Linked DNA regions of Homo sapiens: region 1 is linked to region 2. The links are contacts of gene promoters, found by promoter capture Hi-C in human tissues and cell types (Jung and others, 2019). All regions are on one chromosome and are shown on one strand. Each heading gives the region's core, a stretch centred on a gene start or on the middle of the fragment in contact. The rest is flanking DNA. Distances are from core to core; before and after follow the strand shown.

Evidence for each region. Contacts are between HindIII fragments. The study calls those that stand out against the background at their distance.
Region 1: a contact is called between a fragment that was not itself captured here and the fragment with the promoter of KIAA1549 in region 2, in 1 of the 25 tissues and cell types used here (spleen).

What each region holds. Positions count from the first base shown.
Region 1 is chr7:139,295,367-139,300,135 of GRCh38, reverse strand. UBN2 (ubinuclein 2) reads right to left here. Exons shown (of 18, transcript NM_173569.4): 18 at 1-2,349. The coding sequence ends at 2,300. Among named protein-coding and RNA genes, the nearest start is that of TRR-CCT4-1, 43 kb to the left of the region's middle. The HindIII fragment of the contact is 3,914 bases long and covers 1,011-4,769 here.
Region 2 is chr7:138,978,936-138,984,051 of GRCh38, reverse strand. KIAA1549 reads left to right here and starts at 2,663. Exons shown (of 20, transcript NM_001164665.2): 1 at 2,663-2,969. The coding sequence starts at 2,783. RefSeq lists enhancers at 1,886-2,235, 2,858-3,744 and silencers at 2,216-2,345, 2,366-2,745, 2,786-2,915, 3,755-4,049. The HindIII fragment of the contact is 8,726 bases long and covers 1-5,116 here.

The sequences.
Region 1 (4,769 bases), core at 1,718-4,217, 320 kb before region 2:
ACAGGGAAAAGAACTGATTATCTTGTTCTTTTCTAATGATGACAGTCACCAGGGATCTTCATATGGCATGATTCAGAATTGATGGTTTTAAGAAATTCAAATGATTTTTTGACTCAAACTAGTCATTTATATGAATGTATGTGTGTATGTATATATACATACAGACAAACATATATACAAGTATTCAGGAAGAGAAATTAATACGCACTTCGACTTCTCTTGTGGTATGAGAAGTAAAACAAAGGCTACCTTCCCAAAGGAAAATCCCATCACTTCCCCTAGTATGAAGCAAAGACCTTTTTATTCATATTTCGTAAAAGCAAGAGGTCCACTACATTTGAAAAAATTAAAAAAATTGGGCAAGCTTCCTTAATTGAAACCAAGCAAATCTTCATCAAACATACTGAATTCAAGTCAAACCTCTCTGCAACATCCTCCCAGTATCCTTCCAAAATATCTACTGGGGTTCATACTACATCCATATTTGTTTTATTGATAAACTAAATTCTTAGAGTCAAGAAATTATATCAGTGATTCCTTTGAAATAATCCTTTCCCTTTACTGTAACAAGTTCTTGGAACTAAAGTTTTCAGTTATTTATTAACTTTTTCGCTATGAAGCAAGCCAATGTGACTTTGAAGTCAAAATATAGGCATACAGATCTGAACCGATCTGTGGTTATTTATTCACAGTCCTGTAGGGTATCTGGGACTTTTGTGTATAAAAGAAAAAAGGGCCTGGTTAATACTCTTAATTGAGTAAATCTAATGGTATAGGGTAATGTATAATAAACACATATGCAATAAATCTTGTCACTACCAGTCTATTTTTTTTAGGTTAGTGTCATTATAAATGGATGAAGCTTATACCATTTAGAGTTTACACCATTCTCTGATATAGTATGAAAATATTCAGAAGCTTAAAAAACTAGAATAATGCGGCAAAAAAACCCATCAAATCAAATGTATCCAAGGAGAACCATAAATTTTTCCCTTAACATCCTTTGTTGAATATGCTATTTGCATAAGGAAGCTATAATAACTAAGGAGTCTTATTTTCTGCAGATTTACTCACATACCAATACACTGAGTAAATAGTGAAGCTTTAGGATCTCAAATGCTCCAAACAATTTCACTACACTGGATACAGGGAGTAAAAATATGTCGTGATTGTGATCCTAATGTGATTCCTCCCTTTAAAATACCATCTTAAAAATTCAAAAACTATATTCATGCCATTTGAATGACCAATGAAGAAACATAGTGTACACTTCTACCTGTTTATACCAATAGCTAATAATCACCTGAAGGACCACTAGCTAAAAGAACAGAAGGAGAAGTTGTGAAGTTAGATGAACTGGGGAAACTTAGAGTTTATGTTGCTGCAAGGGCTAAAAGCAGCAAAGCAATAACCCTGTAAAGATCCCCATTTCTCAGGAGAAAAATGTGAACACAGTCACATTTTAACATCAAGAATGGAAATAAGAATTAACCAGTCAATACTAGATGCACAAATCACCTGAAGAAAAGAGTTAAGTACCTGCTTCTGAACGGAAGATGAAATTGACCCTTTTACAAAAAGGGGACATCTAGGTTTCATCTCTTAAGAGCAACAGGCTCAACTTCCTGATTTTTAAAAATCTAGATGATTTAATAATATATATCACTGTGCTAAAATAACTTTCCTGAAGGATCTTTAGTCCACTGATTGAGGGAAGTTGCTACACACTGGAGGAGATTCAAGTTTGTTCAGGATTTTCGAGGGTGTGCTATGCAGCTACTGTCTATCGGAGATAGAATCATTATTATTTCTTTTTGTGGCAAATCTGCTACACAGTCCATTCAAATAGACATGATCATTATTCCTGACAAACTGGCCTAATTCCAGTTTTTAATGCCTTTTATTACCAATTATGTCTGTAAGTGTTCAGATCCAACCCCCAGGATGGATGGAGTTTACCCAAATTCTCTTCACTTCCTTCTTCCTCCCCCGGGAAAAATCAAATTTGTATTTCTGTGGGTTTGACAACTGAGTCTCTTTCAAGTCTGTTAATACGGTAACTCTGTCATTCTTTAGAAGAGACCAAAGGTCACTAACTTTGCACAAAAGCATTTCTTCCTCCTGCACCTGGCTTTGCTCAAGTAATGTTTTCTTTTCTTTTTCCTCCTCACCACAGTGCTTGGGACGAGAGAATGTAAACATCGACAGAAACAGCAGCCCTATGACCACATAAGTACTTTCCCATCAGGTAGATTCCATCAGTCAACTAAACATTTCGTCTCCTTTGCTTGCTGGGCAGTCACTGAGATTTCCGTGGTAATTTAGTGTCCCCTTTACTTTGGCCTCCATCTGAGAAAAAGAGACGTTAAATTGGTATGGGTCCATATGTTACAAAAACCAGCTAACAAAAACAAAGCAAAAACAACAATTAACTTTTATCTTTTGTGGATGACATCTCTGAAAAGATATCACTTTTAATATCTTGCATGCCATATAGCATTATAGAGGTTGATAAAACATCATGGAGATAAAAACTCAACAACAATGATCCTCTTCTCTCAAATGACTGTGGTTTTCAGTGTTTTTTAAATATGATTTCAACAAGTATTTATCATTTACGTCCCAGCCAATTGTGTCAAATGCTGTGAGAGGGTTATAAAGGAACCAGAAGACACAATTCCTACCTCCGAGGGACCCACTACATCTTTCAACTCCTTTGGAAGACAGGTCAATTTCATTTTTTTTTTTTTGTAAGTGAAATAAAATTTCTTGCCAGGACACAGCATTTCATAATTCCTGATTATTTGTGTAAACAAACGTAGCAAACTTTTCATCTGTAGTGAAAAACATCCAGCTGAGTGTGTGCTCATTCTAACCTAGCTTTAAGTGACAGGAAAGTCTGCTACTGGGACAAGGCTCTTTCCTTTTTTTTTTTTTTTTTTGAGACGGAGTCTCGCTCTGTCGCCCAGGCTGGAGTGCAATGGCGCGATCTCAGCTCACTGCAACCTCTGCCTCCCAGGTTCAAGCAATTCTCCTGTCTCAGCCTCCCGAGTAGCTGGGATTACAGGCGCACACCACCATGCCCGGCTAATTTTTGTATTTTTAGTAGAGACAGGGTTTCACCATGTTGGTCAGGGTGGTCTCAAACTCCTGACCTCATGATCCACCCTGCCTCAACCTCCCAAAGTGCTGGGATTACAGGCATGAGCCACCACGCCTGGCTCTTTCTTTTTTTAAGAGAGAGTCTTGCTATGTTTTCCAGGCTGGAGTACACTGGCTATGCACAGGTGCGATCATAGCACACTATAGCCTCAAATTCCTGGGCTCAAGAGACCCTCCTGCCTTAGCCTTCTAAGTAGTGGGACTACAGGTGTGTGCCACCACACCAGCTCAAAATAATTTCTATTTTTACATACTGCTGTTTAAATGCTTGCAGAAAAAATGTTGATTACTTCATTTAAGCCTCAACTAAATTACCTACAAAAACTGGACAGGAGGAGAGGAAAGGGGGATACCAGGGCAAGGGTAAGGCCCAATGACTTGGAAAGCCAACAGAATATGGAGAAAGTCTCCAACAGGTCATGGCCTTAGCAAGAAAAATGAGGCCTCAAAGACAACCCATGCCTGACAGCAAAGGACAGGAGAAGGAAACCTTTTACTCTGAGGGAAGAGGCATGAATAGCAGAAATACACAGGTGAAAAGGAACAAATTTGACCAGGGTTTGGCAAACTACAGCCCATAGGCCAAATCTGATTCCCTGCCTGCTTTTGCACATGAAGTTTTATTTACAGTCATACTCATGTGTTTAAATACTCCTTATGGCTGTTTTTCACTACAATGGTCAGTTGAGTAGTGGTGACAGAGACCATATGACCTGCAAAGCCTAACATATTTACTATTTGGCCCTTTATAGAAAAATTTTACTGACCTTTGTTTTAGACTAAATAAAATTAATCAACATTAACTGAGCTCTTACTATGCACCAGGTGCCAAGCTAGAAGCTTTAAATCAATTATTTTTTATTAGATTCTCATATGAAGTCATTAAAAAACATTTGTTGTCTCCAGTTTACAAGCAAGAGAAAGTGATGGTCAAACAAGCCTACTCAAACTGGCAGTTCTGGAATTCAAAAATCCAAGTCTGATCCTCAAGTTCAGTGACTTACACTTTAAAATGTTTCTTAAAGGAAAAATTTTAAACTTTTTTTTTTGGGGGGGACAGACTCTCACTCTGTCACCCAGACTGGAGTGCGGTGGCACAATCAGAGCTCACTGCAGCCTCAACCTCCCAGGTGTAGGTGATCCTCCCACCTCAGCCTCCTGGGTAGCTGGGACTACAGGTGCACAGCACCATGTCCAGAAAATTTTCTGTATTTTTTGTAGAGATAGTGTTTCACCATGTTGACCAGGTTGGTCTCGAACTCCTGGACTCAAGCCATCCGCCTGCCTTGGCCTCCCAAAATGCTGGGATTACAGGCATGAGCTACCATGCCTGGTTGAAAAATTTTAAACTTTTTAACTTTAGTTATTTGGAAAATACTGACAGTCATATTTCCTTTCTCCCCTCGGAATAGCAGTGCTGCACAGATAAATTTGATAGTTCGTGTAAGAGCGAACACTGGGGTCTTTTTGAGCCACAAGAATCCTGCTTGTTTAATTCCTTGCAGGTGGCCACATTCATGCCAATCTGCCCATGAGTACACTACCCTCAGCTGGATTCATTATACCAAGCAGCTGTCTACACCCAGGGGGGGACATGCTTTAGTCAC
Region 2 (5,116 bases), core at 1,414-3,913:
CCCCCTCCCCTGGAGGGTGTGTGGTTTAACTGGAGACGACAATTCCAGTTGGAGTTGAGCCTTATGGAAATAAACTAACCTCTCTGGCTTGTTTCTTTATCTATGAGAATTGGATGAGATGATCTCTAAAATCGATTTTAAAATCTTACACACACACACACATTTGCACACACTCCCCTACCTCCAAGGACCACTCATCCCCTCTGAGTCTGCAGAGTAACACCACCTACCAGCTGGACTGTCAGAGCCTGGTAGACATTTTCCCAGACATGGAGGCAGAATGCCTTAAATCCTAACAGAGGTAAGATTTTGTTTTATGCCTTCAGAGCTGGGAGACTAAGGGACCCTAGGGACCTCACTTTCCACGGACACTTTGGTGTCCATGAGTCATTTCTAGTATCTCAGGGTTCCAATTTTTATTTTTACTTCCAGCTGATCAATCTCTTAATGGCAGGGCAAACACTATTGTCTTTGAGTTTGCAGAGAATGGAGAAGGAGACTCCTTTCTTTTTTCTTTTCCTTTTTTTTTTTTTTTTTTTTTTGAGATGGAGTCTTGCTGTGGCACCCAGGCTGGAGTGCAGTGGCGTGATCTTGGTTTACTGTAACCTCCGCCTCCTGGGTTCAAGTGATCCTCCTGCCTCAGCCTCCTGAGTAGCTGGGATTACAAGCACGTGCCACCATGCCTGGGTAAATTTTTCTGTGTTTTTATTAGAGACGGGGTTTGCCATGTTGGCCAGGCTGGTCTTGAACTCCTGACCTCAGGTGATCTGCCTGCCTTGGCCTCCCAAAGTGCTGGGATTATAGGCGTGAGCCACCGCGCATGGCCGAGGGAGGCTTTTTTCTCTGACACCAACGGGTCTAGTGTAGATGGCAGCTTGCAGGAGGCTGAGGCCAAATCTGAAGATGGAACCTCTTCACGGGCGGAATGCATGCTCTGGCTCAAACCAACGATTGTCTACTGAGGGCTTACTGGGGCTATGAGAAATCCTAAGCAGGATAGCACCATATTTGAATTTCATATTAATTTATTGGAGGTGGGGTGGGGGCTGTGTGTGCAAAGCATAAATTCATAAAAGATAAAACAACACAACAGGACAAGACCATTCAAGAGTTGCACGAAGGCAGTGGTTTGTGGTCAAATGTGCTGTTATAGAGAGTTCAGAGAATAAAGATAAGTGTGTGAATAAGAGGTCCCAGATCTATGGCCATGGTGTCCTGGGACCAGACATATCTGGGCAGTTTCTCTTAGGTACTTACCTGGGTGTGCACGCAGAACCCTCTTTGGGAGACAGGAGCAGTTACTGTAATAAACATAGGGGCTGTATGATGGGGGGTTACAATAACGTGTAAAAACACCAGGAACATCAACAAAAGCTTTTTTTAACCTTTATTCTCATTTTCCTTGAAACTACCAGGTTTCAAGTACCCACCTGTAAGGACCAGGTGTGTACCTACAGAAGAGTGCCCCTGTCCTATTCTTAGGAAGAACTATTCGCCAAGGGCAAGGAGTCCAGAAGAGTTGGAGCTGCAAGGCTGGGCAGCCCCTTCAAGGGCTGGGCCTGGCAGGGGAACCCGACTGAATAGCCGCGAGGATCCCTCTGCCAGTGTAATGATTCACCTTTTCCGCTGTCTGCCATAGTTTTTCTGCACGAGATAGTGTCCCCCACACACACCGTTAATATCTGCTTGATGCAACAATGCCAGTGGGATGCAACGATTCAAAACTTCCAATTCCTCCTCCCTAGACCCTGAAGCCACGGGGCGTCTTCAGAGTGACGTGCCTGGCACACAGTAGGTACTTGACAGATGTCAACTCCCTTCTTCCCGTTCCTCATTCCCCCCGCGGACTCCAACCCTCAAACGCTCTCTGGGCATTCTCTCCACCTCTCAGGAGCGCCACTTTCCCTAAAACGGCCTGGCCTTGCGGGTCTCCCCAGCTCCACGCCCATTCGCTTCAGCAGCCGCCTGCTCAAGGCCTGCTAAGTGCAGGGTCCCGCGGGCCTCCCAGGCCCTGAGCGCAGGGTCGCTTCCCGAAGACCCGCAGAGGTGGCCGCACCTTCTTAAGGCAGGAAGGCGGGGGAGAGCTGCGTGCGCTCTGCTCGCCCCTGCCTTGCACGCTGAGCTCTAGCGCAGGAGCCCGACTTTGTCTGGCTTTGTCCCCTCCGCGGCCCCGAGGCTGTCCTGAGAGCGCGGCGCCCCACACACCTGCTGCCCGCAAGGAGTCGGCGGGAGAGGAGGAGCGAGGGAGGCGAGAGGACCCCTCCCCCGGCTTGCCGGCCTACCCTGATCCGGGCGCCCCGGGGAACGCGCGGCGGGACCCGGGGTTGGGTGCGGGTCGGGGCGGCACCGCCCGGCCCAGGCCCCCCGAGCCCCTCGCGCTCCCTCCGGAAGGCGGGTCCTGGGGGAGGGCTGGGCCGCGCCGCCTCGCCGCCCTTGCCGCCTCTGCCGCGCCGAGCCCCGCGCACGCTGCCCCGGCCGCCCCGCAGGCAGGCAGGCAGGCAGGCAGGCAGGCGTCCGGCCGGCCGGGAGGGGGTGCTCGCCGTCCCGCGCCCGGGCCCGCGCGTTGCCGGGCAGCGGCTCCGAGGCTCCGAAGGGGGCGGAGCGGCAAGGCGGGCGTGCGGCTGGCGCCCCTGTCCTCGGTTCCGGCCCGGCCCGCCCCCGCCTCTCCGGCCTCCCTCCGCGCCGGTGCGCGGCGCCCCGTCCCAGCCGCAGCCGCAGCGGCCGCCCCTCCCGGACCCGAGAGCCGCTGAGCCGCGAGGCCGGGCCGGGGCGCCGGCCGGGAATGCCGGGGGCGCGGCGCCGACGCCGAGGCGCGGCCATGGAGGGGAAGCCCCGCGCCGGGGTCGCGCTGGCCCCGGGGCCGAGCGGCCGACGGCCTTCCGCCCGCTGCGCCCGCCGCCGCCGCCCGGGGCTGCTGCTTCCTGGCCTCTGGCTGCTGCTGCTGGCCCGGCCGGCCTCGTGCGCCCCAGGTAAGCTCCGCCGAGACCCTCGGAACGCGGCCGCGACCCCGCCTGCCTTTATCGCTGCTGTTTTCAAAACCCCGGCTTTCCCCGCCCATCCTCTTTTATTCTCCAGCTCCCTCGCCGTCCTTTCTGGAAGATGCTTTGCCATTCTTCTGGGGCCCAACAAATAAAGGCACGGGGGAAATAAATAATTAAAACGAACAAGCGAGCGGCTTCTGGCCGGTCTTGCTAAGGGGTCTGCAAAGCTGTTCTCTTGTCCATGGAACCCGAAGCGGGTCTGGTGGCTTCATCTCAGAATGTGCCTGGTTTTTCCTGCAGAATGCAGGCACCGGCGTGCTTTTTTGTCAAGGCTGTATGATGTGGCATATCGAATGTTTTGAGATACTTTATTGTCGGGGCGAAGAGGTGGATTCGAGGTGTGCTTTAAAAGAGTATTGCATTACCGGGACAAGCCCAGCGTCCCCCAGATGCGGGCAGGCCGGCCGTGTCCCCCCGTACAGCAGGACACAAAGAACATTCAAAGAAAACCTCTTGGAAAGCGCCCTGGCCACGGATCTTTCCAGGGAAATAGCTATTGGTATTACTTCTGCAAGGCATTATTAGTACAATGGAGTGTGAAAATATTTTGATTCTTAAGTGTCTGGGCATGAAAGGAGTAAGGGCTGTTTTTATAACAGATGCAATTTAGTGACTGTTCATCAGTATGGAATGAAGAGGCATGATTTATGAAGAAGCATAAGGGTTTTGTTGTGGAAGAAATGATTTAATTCCTATTGCTTCTCCAAAATGTTTATTTGTCCACCCTGAGCCTGTACACAGGATGGTCTGGAAACCGTCTCTGAGCTGACACTGCAGGCCAGCGATTGCCCCTGCACAGGCACTTGACCACTTTGAGGCGGAAAAGGAAAGGTGGAAGGAGCAGCTAGGGGTGGAGAGCTGCTGCACACAGAACAAAAACCAGAAAGCCGTGAACGCTGCTCCGAATCCTCCTTTCTCGTGGGAGCAGGGCCAAAGGGCTACTCAGTGGCTGGGAGGAATTGGAACACATTTGAAGGTGTCCCTTGGACCTGTGAGAATTATAACCAGTGCCCTAGAGGGGATGGTACAATAGAAGCACAGGGAGGACTTCAGGGATCATGGAACAGGTCCACTCTGCTTACCAAAGAGGAAACTAAGGCAGAGAAGTGCCTTGCTCAAGGTCACAGTCATCACTTTCCCTGCCTCCCACCCCCGCTCTTGGCCCATAGACATATCCACACCTGAAGCCTCTGCAGAGATTTCCCATAGCTGGGTGGAACCAGGGTTGGGGTGACAGAATGAGTCTCTTTTAGGCAGTATACAGCTAGTGCAAACACCTTACTCTAACCTAGGACCTCCCGTCTCAGTCCTGCTCCTGCGAGTTCCAGCCCTGTGTGTCCAGAGGAGAAGAGATCATTGTCAAGGGTCTCTTGGCTTTAGTCAACAAAGAGAGCCCATCTGATACTCGTGGATTCATCTGTCATAAGACACAGCAGATAAATGGTTTCCATCTCCTGAGTGCTTTTTGTGTGCCAGATGTTGAATTTTATATACACGATCCAATCACGTTGTGAGTTAGGCATAGTTATCCCCATTTTACAGATGAGGAAACTAAGGCTTTGAGTTTAGGTTGGTTTGGCTTCAGACTCTATGACATGCTTCCTTTCTGTGCCTGATGGCTTCCCCATATGAATGTGGCCATCTGGGTGTACTGCAGAGGTTGTGGAGAATATAAGTGCTTCTGGTAACTTTAAAATAAATAGTGAAGCTGTTTGCACTGCCCATCCCTAACCTTCTCTTCTTTGGAAGTCCTTTCCTGCTTCCCCTCTACCCCCAATACAAATATTCAACCTGGAGACATGAAATTAATAATATTTCCATTCTAGACCTGACATCATGGAAAGAGACTTCATCCTTTCACTGGTTTGTATATTGGCTTCAGCCGCTGCCAGGCTCATAGACTAGGAACTAAGAAGTGGAGGGCACAGCCCCTGTGCTCCAGGATCCAGCTGGAAACACAGAGCAGTGAAGGAAGTACAAACCCTTGCACAGACCATTCCCGGACAGGAAAGGCAGGATTCCTTATGGATGACCTGCTGGAGGTGACCCCATCTACTTGAAGACTGTGAGGAACG